Regions from separate parts of the Homo sapiens genome. Here region 1 is linked to region 2. Evidence: promoter capture Hi-C in 16 types of primary human blood cells and fetal thymus (Javierre and others, 2016). All regions are on one chromosome and are shown on one strand. The core of a region is centred on a gene start or on the middle of the fragment in contact, and the rest is flanking DNA. Distances in the headings are between cores, read along the strand shown. Region 1 holds the start of FAM98B (family with sequence similarity 98 member B). Region 2 holds the start of EIF2AK4 (eukaryotic translation initiation factor 2 alpha kinase 4).

What was found. The method cuts DNA at HindIII sites, captures the fragments that hold promoters and counts their contacts. A CHiCAGO score of 5 or more calls a contact.
Region 1: a contact is called between a fragment that was not itself captured here and the fragment with the promoter of EIF2AK4 in region 2, in 1 of 17 cell types (non-activated CD4 T cells). The highest score is 5.9, in non-activated CD4 T cells.

The regions. Positions count from the first base shown.
Region 1 is chr15:38,453,521-38,459,093 of GRCh38, forward strand. It overlaps FAM98B (family with sequence similarity 98 member B), which reads left to right and starts at 607. Exons shown (of 8, transcript NM_173611.4): 1 at 607-712. The coding sequence starts at 642. It also overlaps the pseudogene LOC100422645. RefSeq lists enhancers at 755-864, 925-1,024. The HindIII fragment of the contact is 160 bases long and covers 1,702-1,861 here.
Region 2 is chr15:39,931,792-39,936,862 of GRCh38, forward strand. EIF2AK4 (eukaryotic translation initiation factor 2 alpha kinase 4) reads left to right here and starts at 2,324. Exons shown (of 39, transcript NM_001013703.4): 1 at 2,324-2,548. The coding sequence starts at 2,405. RefSeq lists an enhancer at 2,037-2,176 and a silencer at 2,197-2,606. The HindIII fragment of the contact is 8,824 bases long and covers 1-4,283 here.

The DNA.
Region 1 (5,573 bases), core at 532-3,031, 1.5 Mb before region 2:
TCAACTACCTTACTTTGCTGGCGGTATGTTTGTTGCTTATACAACTAATGCTTTGTCAGCAATGAAGCACATCATCTGAATATGCAGTTGAGGGGATTCTACATAGATAGATGCAAGCATCTGATCACTTCATTGGTCTTCCGCATTTCATAAGGAGAAAAATATTACCTTGTTATAAATTACTTCATTTTTTCCTTCAAGTTGAAGCATCGTCGTGTATATTGATTTAAAAATTATATGTGTAGGCATGTGATATTAGTTACTAATTTTAGCTGAAGATAATTATAATTTTATTTCAGATTTCTGTTATTAAAAAGGTCTGGAATCGGATAGGTTGAGATCAACCCGATACCACGATATTTGCTAAAATTTATTTGAACACACAGAAAAGTCCCAACACAGAGAACTCTTTATTACTATTATTTATTATTTCTACTATTCTTTTAAAAAATTATTATCGTTACACGCAGCGGTTTTAGGCACTATGAAGTGTTTATTGCCTCGGGGCTGGGAACCTTTGCGCCCTTCTTCAGCTGTGCTCTCAGGCAGTTACCGGCCAGACCCGGACCGGAACCTTGGCGCGGTGACGCTAGTTTCCGGCGGGCTACTTAGAGCGCCGAACAGCTCTGGGCCAAAGGACCATGAGAGGGCCGGAGCCGGGTCCCCAACCGACGATGGAGGGAGACGTGCTGGACACACTGGAGGCGCTGGGGTGAGTGCTTTTGGAGACGCCTTTTCCCTGAAAACGCAACCTCTCCTTGGCCTGGCTGCTTAGCCTACTTCCCTTGGGCCTCTGTGGGCCTGGGCGGCCATGTGTAGGCCTCCTTCCCTGCCTCGATCCCTCCGGCGCCGACGGAGTTAAGCGGGAGGCGGGAGAGAAATCTATTTGGGGGGTGGAGCAGGGCCGGAGAGCTGGGGTTCGTGGCCCCCTCTTCGAAACTTCTTGCCTCGAAACTCTGTTGCAGGAATCCGCCGGGTGGCGCGGAGCGGCCCTTCTAGCACCGGTTTTCTGGGCTAGCTCGCGCCCGCAGGTGATATTTGTGTTGACGTAGTTCTGGCGCCCGGAGGGAGGTGCTGGAACCTGAGCTGCTGTTGAGGACTGTTGTCTCCTACAATGTACAACTTGTGGCTTACTTGGGGCTCTGGAGCGAATGGCTTTTACTTTGACCGGAGAAAGTGTTGTAGTTCATTGCGAGTTCGTTCTTTCAACCATTTCGTCCGTTCGTCAACGTGTATATTAGCTTGTATATTAATTTACACATATTTACGTTTGTAAATTTCCCCTAGGCAAGGGAAAAGGATAGTTTTTCAGATTACTCTTGGCTTACATAGTCGCGCAGGCTGCAAGTCTGCTGCCGGCTGGTATTTACAGTGCAGAATGGTAAGTGCTGTGAGAACTCAGGGTGGAGGTGGGAGTAATGTTAATACTTAACAAGTGTGGTGGTTCGTAATCTCCCCCTCAACCTCATCCTGTTTTTTTCCACACAGCTCTTGTCCCCATCCCAAATTATCATGTCCTGCCCATTCATTTGTCTCTTGAACTCTGCTTCTCCCTCGTTTTATTCCTCCTCCTCCCCAAGTCAGCTCCTGGAAAACTGATGCTTTGCATATTTTATTCACCGATGTTTTCCCAGCAACACACTAGAACGGAGTCTTTTACAGTAAATAGTGGTTGAATGAATGAGTAAATGAATGAAGAAAAGCTTAGAGAAGAGTCCACAGCAGTAAGCATAGGACCAGATAGTTGAGTCATACAGTGCACATTAAATAAAGAGCTTGGAGCCATCTGCACATTTGTTTGCCCTGCTACGTGCTGCTGTTTCTTGATAGGGGAAGCTGTGCCTTTGCAGCGTTATTATGAAGCTTGAACCAATCCCACACCCCACTTTATCTTCTCTAAAACTGCATTTGCCCCTCTATCAATTGTTTCTTTAGTTGAACCCTGATAATACCTACTTTGCAGTGACCCAGGGTTACGGAGTCTTGCACTTAGTAGATCGTGAATACATATTTGTCAAACGAAAGAACAGTGCCATTGATTATTTAGGGGGCATTTTTACTTCTGTGAAGTCCCTTGGAAGTTCTCACTTAACTTGGTTAAGAAGGAACCAAAACAAGAACTGAAAATACTTAGTAGAATTATTTAGGCTCCAAACAGTTTGAGCTCCCAAGTACTTCAGGTAAGAATATTGGGAACTCATAAATGGTTTATGAAAAAGGAAAAGGCAGTGCTTTTCTTCTTTCTTCATTTCTTGAACTTATTGTTCATATTATAAGTGTTTTAGAAAATTCATTGCTATAATCTTGATTTTTATCAAGGAAAATTAGTCAGATTATTCAACATGGAAAGTAAAACAGTTTACACACTCCAAAATTAGTTTTTCCTGGAATAACTATGAGGGCAACATTTTGAAGTTTGAATTCTCCTATGATAATACGATGTGAAAAAAGTAGTTATTTACAATATGTGTTGTAATGGAACACTGTGTTTTCAAATATCCATGTAGATAGTGAATAATGCATTTTCTGTTGTAAGGTATTGAGGATATCAGCAAAGGTACTTCAGTTTGTCATGTAAAATAAATTAATGGGAGGCATTTGAAGGGAAAAATCTATGTGAAAGGACAATTTAGTGATACAGGTGAAAACAGGATAGGCTAGGAGTCAGTCAGTTTTCTCATCTGTGAAAAGAGAGGGCTGGAGCAGATGATTTTAGAAGTCTCTTTCAGTTCTGATAGTCTCTGATTTTGTGGAATAGTAGATCTCAACACTGGAAGTACATCAGAGTCGTGTGGAACTTGTGAAAAACTGTTCCAGTCTAGTATATACCATAGACTGACCGAATCATAATCTTCAGAGGTACAGTACAGACCTGCATATTTTTAAAAAGATTCACAGACTCAGTTGAGAAACACTACTATGGAGAGAAGTTTCCTTTAAATATTTATTGAACACACTGTATATTGGACCTCGTTCTGAGGAGTCAGTGGTGAGCAAAATAGACTTGGTTCCTACCCTTGTGGAGTTTATAATCTAGTGGAGAAACAGACATGATCACAAAAACAATTATAAACTATAATAAATGTGTCAAAGGAAAAGAACAGGGTGATGTAACAGGAGGATCTAAGAAGTCTTAGGGGTTAGTGATAGATTCCTGAGGAAGTGACATTTGAGTTGAAATAAGAAGGGTGAATAGAAATTAAGTAGTTAAGGTTGGATGGATGAAAAAGGGGGACAAAGATATCCTTACAGTGAGAAGAAAATGTGAAGACTTTGAAATGTGAAGGAGCTTGCTGTATTAGAAGAACTGGAAGGAGGCTAATGTGGTTGGAAGGCAGAGTGTGAGGGGCAGAGTGGTGGGAAATTGGATTCAAGAGTTAGGTGAAAATCAGGGCATGCAGCCCCTTTTAGTCTGTGTTGTGGATTTTATTCTTGATCATAACAGCAATGGGATGTGATCGAATAATTTTAAATAAAAAGGGAGTGGTTAGATGTCTAGTTTGAAAGTTACATCTGTCAGCAAGATGGAAAATAGATTGGAGAATTTAGTTAATAGTCTGTGAAAGAAATGATGGTTGCTTAGTGGCAGTGGATATGGGAAGAACTACATTACTGAACTTAGTGATTGATTGGATATTAAAATTCAAGGATTCATTTCTCTTTATTTTAAAAAATTTTTTAGATACAGGGTCTTGTTATGATACCCGGGCTAGTCTTGAACTCCTGGCCTCAAATGATCTCCTGCCTTGGCTTCTCAAAGTGTTGGGATTACAGGTGTGAGCCACCACGCCCCAACAGATTAATTTCTTCAGTTGGTATTTATTGAGCACCAAAATGAAATGATACACCTTAGAATCTAAATTGGATACAGAAGAATGTGAAGATAGGAGAGAGTTGGTAAATATGGAGAATGCAGAGGAATCAATGAATGGAGGTAATGATGATATCAAAGAATAGTTATAGGTGAGTGGTCGAAGAAGCAAGTGGAAGGATAAATAAGAGGTTGTGGTCAGGGAGCCACATGTTTGGATAAGTGATTTTGGAGGTGCAGTGGTTGTAAGTAATGGCAAGGGTGCAAGGGGGGCTGAGTGACATGTGCAGGTTGGAATTGAGAGCTCAGGGTGTGAGATAGGGTATACATACAGACATTAAAGAAACTCAGTGTAATGGCAAGAATAGAGGTGGAGAGGAAAACTGAGCAAAGGGGATGTTGGGGAGTGTCCAAGAGGTAATAGATGAAAACCACAAGTGAATGGGTGGCAAATCTGAGTGGCCTGTGCCTCAAGGAAATAGGAGATATTTATAAGATAATGGGAGAGCAGTGATAATGATGCTATTTTGGTAAGAAAGGAGGCCAAAACTCCTACTATCTGACCTTAAGGCATTTGTGAAAATAAAAATAATTAAAGCTAGAGATGGTAGGAATAACAATCTTACTTTTTTTTTTTTTTTTTAAGAAAGAGAATTTTCAGAGTCAAAAGAACAGAAATCAGTAATCTGTTCTCTTCCAGGGTGGGGAGAAAACCTCCTTCCCCATAGGTTCGAGACTATGGCTAGATGGTGAAGAAGGGAGCTCAGTACCCAACCTTGGGGAGACACAGAAAGGGCCCATGCCAGGCACTTAGCTAGAGGCAAGCGTAGCTTTTGGGCCACAAGACCTGATGGCCACTGGGGTACTGGCCTGGAAACAAGTCCTCATCTTCCCAGAAATGTCTTATTTTTGTCTGCAGCAGCTGGCTGGAGAAAGATTTTGGAAAGGTGTGTACCTGGAGCACCCAAAGGCATACCCTTCCTTTTTCCTTGGCATAGGCTTTATAACACTGAGGAAAGGTCATGGTTTGGCAATGGAGTCTTCAATAGTCTTCATCCCTGTAGAGTTCAGTGGCTTTTAGGGTGACAGGAGAGGAGACGACTTGAAAGACCAAGAGTCTTTCAGCTTCTCCCCCACTGAAACGCTATATGCTGGGGCCACAGTTCATGGCAGAACACACACTCACACACACATCTCGGGAACCCAACAACTCGGGAGCAGGTAGTTCTGGGTATTGTTGGTCTGGCATTTGCCTACTTGGCATCTAAGCTGTCCTAAAGCTCCTTACAATCACTTCTCACTATTTCCAGGCCCATGTGGTGAGGCCCTCCAGCTTTCACTCTGTCCGTCAGGTGATCCTAAAGGCACAGCATAGGAAAGACCCTTACTGGGATGACCACTGCTTGGAAGCAGGGAAGGCTAAGAGGCCTGCCCCTACCCAAGGCTGGTATAGATGTCCTCTGCTCTGCTTCTCAAAGACTGGGAACAGGTTCAGCAACTCAGTATCTGCCATGTCATCAAACCAGGACTGCACAGGCACTGCATTCTCTGGGTGGAAGATGTAAGAAGCAGACAAGTTGTCCAGGATGAGGGTTTTCCTCAGGTTCCTCCCCAGGCGGCTGAGGTTCCTGACTTAGCAGCCCTGGTGGAACCACAGGACTCATGGAATAGGTGAGCCCGGAACACCCCACACCGGCCAGCAGATCCGTCACAGGGTTGGCATACTTGGCCAGGTTGGCAGTGAAGGGAACACATTCAAAGA
Region 2 (5,071 bases), core at 1,074-3,573:
ATTTAATACGTCACTGCCCCCTTAATGCTGCATTTGGTATAATACTGCCATGTAATCCACAGATTCCTTTCAAATTTTGCTGTTTGTTTTAATTATATCTTTTATAGGTCCAGCGTCCAGTATAGATTCTAATTTTACACAATGGAAATATTTGAACATAGATTAGGTATTAAACGATGCTAAGAAATTGTTAATTTTTTTTTAAGAGACAAGGTCTTACTCTGTTGCCCAGATTGGAGTGCAGTGGTGCAATCACAGCTCACTGCAGCCTTGGACTCCTGGGCTCAAGCAATCCTCCCACTCAGCCTCCTGAGGGTGGGACTACATGTCACCTCGTCCAGCTAATTTTTTATTTTATTTTTTGTAGAGATGGGGCCTCGCTATGTTGCCCAGGCTGGTCTCAAACTCCTGGCCTCAAGTGATCCTCCACCTTGTGCTGGGATTACAGGTGTGAGCCACTGTCCCTGGCCAAAGGGTTACATTTTTAGGGTATAAGATTAGTAATATGTTATGTTGGTTCCTTTTCTAGTTAGAGATATATCCTTAGGTATTTATTTTTTAAAATGATATGATTGAGACTTAAAAAAAACACTCCTGAGGGATGGAGAGAAGAGATGAAATAAAATTGACAAAATATCTATGGTTGTTGAAGCTGGATGATGAGTACAGAGGAGTTTACTTCTAAGTATGTTTGACATTTTCATAAATATAGGTTTAAAAGAATTTTTTTAAAGACCAATAGAGAAATGGAGTAATTTTAAGGATTAGAGTGCAATGGCCATATTTGCAATTTAGAAACATTACTCTGGCTGCAATAGGAAGAATGGCTTAATGTGGGGCAAGAATGAAGACAGTGACTAATTAAGAGAGTTATTGAAGTAACCCAGGGAATTGGTGACAGTAGCCTGAACTAAGTTAGTGGCAATGGGTTAGAGTGTAGTGGATGGACAGAAGTGGTGACTATTTGGATGTGAGTTGAGAGAAAGGGAATTCAGAATCACACTCAGTTGAATGGTGCCATTTACCTAGTCAGAGATCACTGGAGAAGGAACGGGTCTCCAGCAGAGGGAAGATGATGATTTAAATTGGCCTTGGGTCAAGCTAGTGCATTTGTGTTATCTGGCCAGAAATGAGTGGATAGATGGCAGCAAGGAATTTACACAATCATTATTTAGTGAACAGTGGAGGAGTAAGCAAGGTAGACAGAAGAAACGTCACTTAAACCTAACTTGGGTTAGTACAATAGGATTATTCGAAATGGACATGCAGCATTAGTAAGTTACTGAAGATGAAGTGCAATAACAATGTCTGGGTAGACAGGTTATTATTTTATAAACTTGAAAAACGACGACTTGAGGCAGGATATAACACAAAGACTCCCTAAATTCACACTGAGTGAACTGGGAAGGGAACATGATTCTCTTCATGGGAAGGTAGCTCATAAAGATGCCTGAGTGGAAAGACAGTTTTCAATTGAATTTGCAAGGTGGTAGTGGAGATCCCCAAAGCTGGGGAATGTAGAGACAGAGAACATAATGAGGGTGTTGAATCTGTGGCTCAGAGAATAAGTTTGGGGGTACTAAAGTGGGAGGAAGGAGGGTGGGGGGGGTCACAATTTTTACTCCCGGTAGTCTTGTTCTGGGAAGGTACAAGGTGAAATTAGAAGTGACCTCAGAACCCATCGACGTCTGCCCTTTAAGAGTTTCCCGGCCGGGCGCGGTGGCTCATGCCTGTAATCCCAGCACTTTGGAAGGCCGAGGCGGGCGGATCACAAGGTCAGGAGATCGAGAACATCTTGGCCAACATGGTGAAACACCATCTCTACTAAAAATAGAAAAATTAGCCGGGCGTGGTGGTGCGCGCCTGTAGTCCCAGCTACTCTGGAGGCTGACGCAGGAGAATCGCGTGAACCCGGCAGGCGGAAGTTGCAGTGAGCCGAGATCGCGCCACTGCACTCCAGCCTGGGGAACAAGAGCCGAAACTCTGCCAAAAAAAAGAAAAAAGAGTTTCCCGCACTAGCCATGCCAGGGTGGAGAAGTTCCAGCAAGCACTTCTGTTAAAGATACTTGTTTCGTGAAAACTATACAATGTGGCGTTTTCATTCCTATCTGTGATTCATTTCTTAAGTTCGTGGAGTTCCTTTGCTCCCCTTCCCCCAGCAGGATGTGGGCAAAGCTGTCCCCCTGCCTTCTTCCTTCGCCTGGGCTTCTGGAGCCTCCGGAGCTAGCTCCCGGCGCGGAGCTCCGCCTACGGCCCGTCCCCGGCGCGGAACCCCGCCCACGAGCCCGTTTCCAGCGTGGAACACCGCCCATAGCCCGTCCCCAGCGCGGAGCCCCGCCCCGCAGGCTGCCGGGGGCCCACCGCCGCCCAGGCAAGGCCGCCCTGCCTTGGGCGCAGCGCTGCCATGGCTGGGGGCCGTGGGGCCCCCGGGCGCGGCCGGGACGAGCCTCCGGAGAGCTACCCGCAACGACAGGACCACGAGCTACAGGCCCTGGAGGCCATTTACGGCGCGGACTTCCAAGACCTGCGGCCGGACGCTTGCGGACCGGTAGGAACGTGGCTTGTCAGGCCCGGGCTGGCGTGCCCTGGCCTCCCCGGGCCCTGGGCCAAAGCCCGGACACTTCCAGATTGGGCCGCCGCTTTAGGATCCTGCAGTCTTTTCATCCCTTAGGTTCCACCCATGCTCACTTTAGTCCTTGCACCTGCAGCTGGTCTGCAGAATCCCACCTAGGCCGAATTCTTCTACAGTCCTTTCCCCATGATTTCCCCAGAGGAATCCCCCTGGATTCCTCCCTCTTACCTGGCACTGCTTCTTATTCCTGCCTACATCCCATAACATAACTGCCTCCTTCCAACCTTGTCCTTTTTCCCCTCTGAAAGCCCTTGCGGATGATACCACAGCAATTCATACGCGCCCCTTGCTACTTTGTTCTGAGAACGCTTTTTGGGCTCTCGCACAGGCCTTACGTCCTCAATCAGAATTCTCAAGTCTCATCCATGCATTCAAATCTGCACGCCACATAATTCCCTCTGTACTCCCCAGGCATCCTCACTGTGTTTTCCGGTATGGAGGAACTTTCCATACCTCTGCACCTTCCTCTAAGACATTTAGCTCAGAATAAAGCACACATTCATCTTAGCTGTAGTAGAGAGAGGGTTCTAGACTGAGTCTAGAGAAGGAGTGTCCAATCTTTTGGCTTCCCTGGGCCACACACAAAATACACTAACACTAAGGATAGCTGATGACCTAAAAGAAAAAAAAAATTCGCAAAAAAACCTCAATGTTTTAAGAAAGTTTACGAATGCGTGTTGGGCCACATTCAAAGCGGCCCATGGGCCTCGGGTTAGACCAGCTTGCTCTAGCTCTAGACCTTTTAAAATGGCATTTTGTTTAAAATAATATTTTGCCTTTTTGTCTGGAAATTAAGGCACGTTATAAAGTATTTATACTGACAGTTTTTTCCCCATCCTTGAAGAGTTGATCTACCAAACTATTTCTGAATATTATCATATTATCATTTAAAACATAGTTCTAACTTCATCTGCTTTTTTTTTTTTTCTTTTTGAGACAGGGTCTTGCTCTGTCTCCCAAGCTGGAGTGCAGAGGCATGACCACGGCTCACTGCAGCTTATTCTCAAGCAATCCTTCTGCCTCAGCCTGTCAAGTACCTGGGACTACAGGCACATGCCACTACACCTGGTTAATTTTTTTAATTTTTTGTAGAGACAGAGTCTTGCTCTGTTGCCCGGGCTGGTATCAAGTTCCTGAGCTCATGCAATCCTCTCACCTTGGCCTCTGAAAGTGCTGGGATTACAGGTGTGGGCCACCGCGCCTGGCCTCTTCATCTGCTTTTAACTTTGGCATTTCACAACATCTGCTCTATCTACACATCCAGGATTTCCTCAAGAAATACCATCTTCTGGAGCTATCAGGACAAAATATTCTCTCTCAAACTCAGGGTGCTTCTTCCTTCATTAAATATTTGTTTTAGGCATTAGGAATACAGCTGTGGGCAAAACAGACAAAAATCCTTGCCCTCAGGGAGCTTACTTTTCTAATGCTTAATAATATGAAGTTATTTTTAACCTGAAATGGTAAAAATATAAATTATTCCCCTTAACATGACAGAGAAGTTGGTGACTGGGGAACTTCTATCTTCCCAAACCTTGAGAATCAGGAAGTAGGCCCAAGAAGCAGCCAAAATAGGTGTCTCAAAGTGTACATGGGACTCAACACAAAGCTCCTAAGGCTTCATTCTGAACTAGTTTGTTTACTTTATACAAGCTTAGTTGTCTGCTCCTAGGGCTGCAGAAAAATGGAAGAGAAAAAGCAACTTCTTTTAGGTAGGGATATTGATAACCTCAAGAATTTATAGCTGGTGGCTTTCATAACAAGATGGAATACTAGACAAACCAAAGCAAAAACTATAGAAGGCAGGCAGAAGAATTTAAATAGCTGTCTGTGGCCTATTGTACACCGGGCAAATGGCCTCAACACATTCATAGGACTGGCAGGCAAATAATTGATGGTCTCAAGGATGAATCAGAGTTTAGTCATTCAACAAGCACTTATTATCACCTGCTATTTGCCAGGGAAAAGTGATGCAGGTCCAAAATCCTTTATCCAAAACTCTTTATTGAGAGGGAGTTTCTCTCTGTCGCCCGGGCTGGAGTGCGGTGGAGCAATCTCGGCTCACTGCAACCTCCACCTCCCAGGTTCAAGCGATTCTTGTGCCTCAGCCTCCTGAGCAGCTGGGATTACAGGTACCCGCCTCCACACCTGGCTAATTTTTGTATTTTTAGTAGAGATGGAGTTTCATTATGTTGGCCAGGCTGGTCTCGAATTCCTGACCTCAAGTCCTCCCGCCTCGCCTCCCAAAGTCCTGGGATTACAGGTGTGAGCCACCGTGCCCAGCCTTTTATCCAAAACTCTTGAGACTTGATGGGTTTCAGAATTCAGAAGTGCTTCTGTTCACGTTTATGTGTGCACATTCCACACATTACCTAATACCTTCCTCAGTGTCTGGGGCAGCATCGAAAATCAAACACAATGAAACATAGAAATACTCAA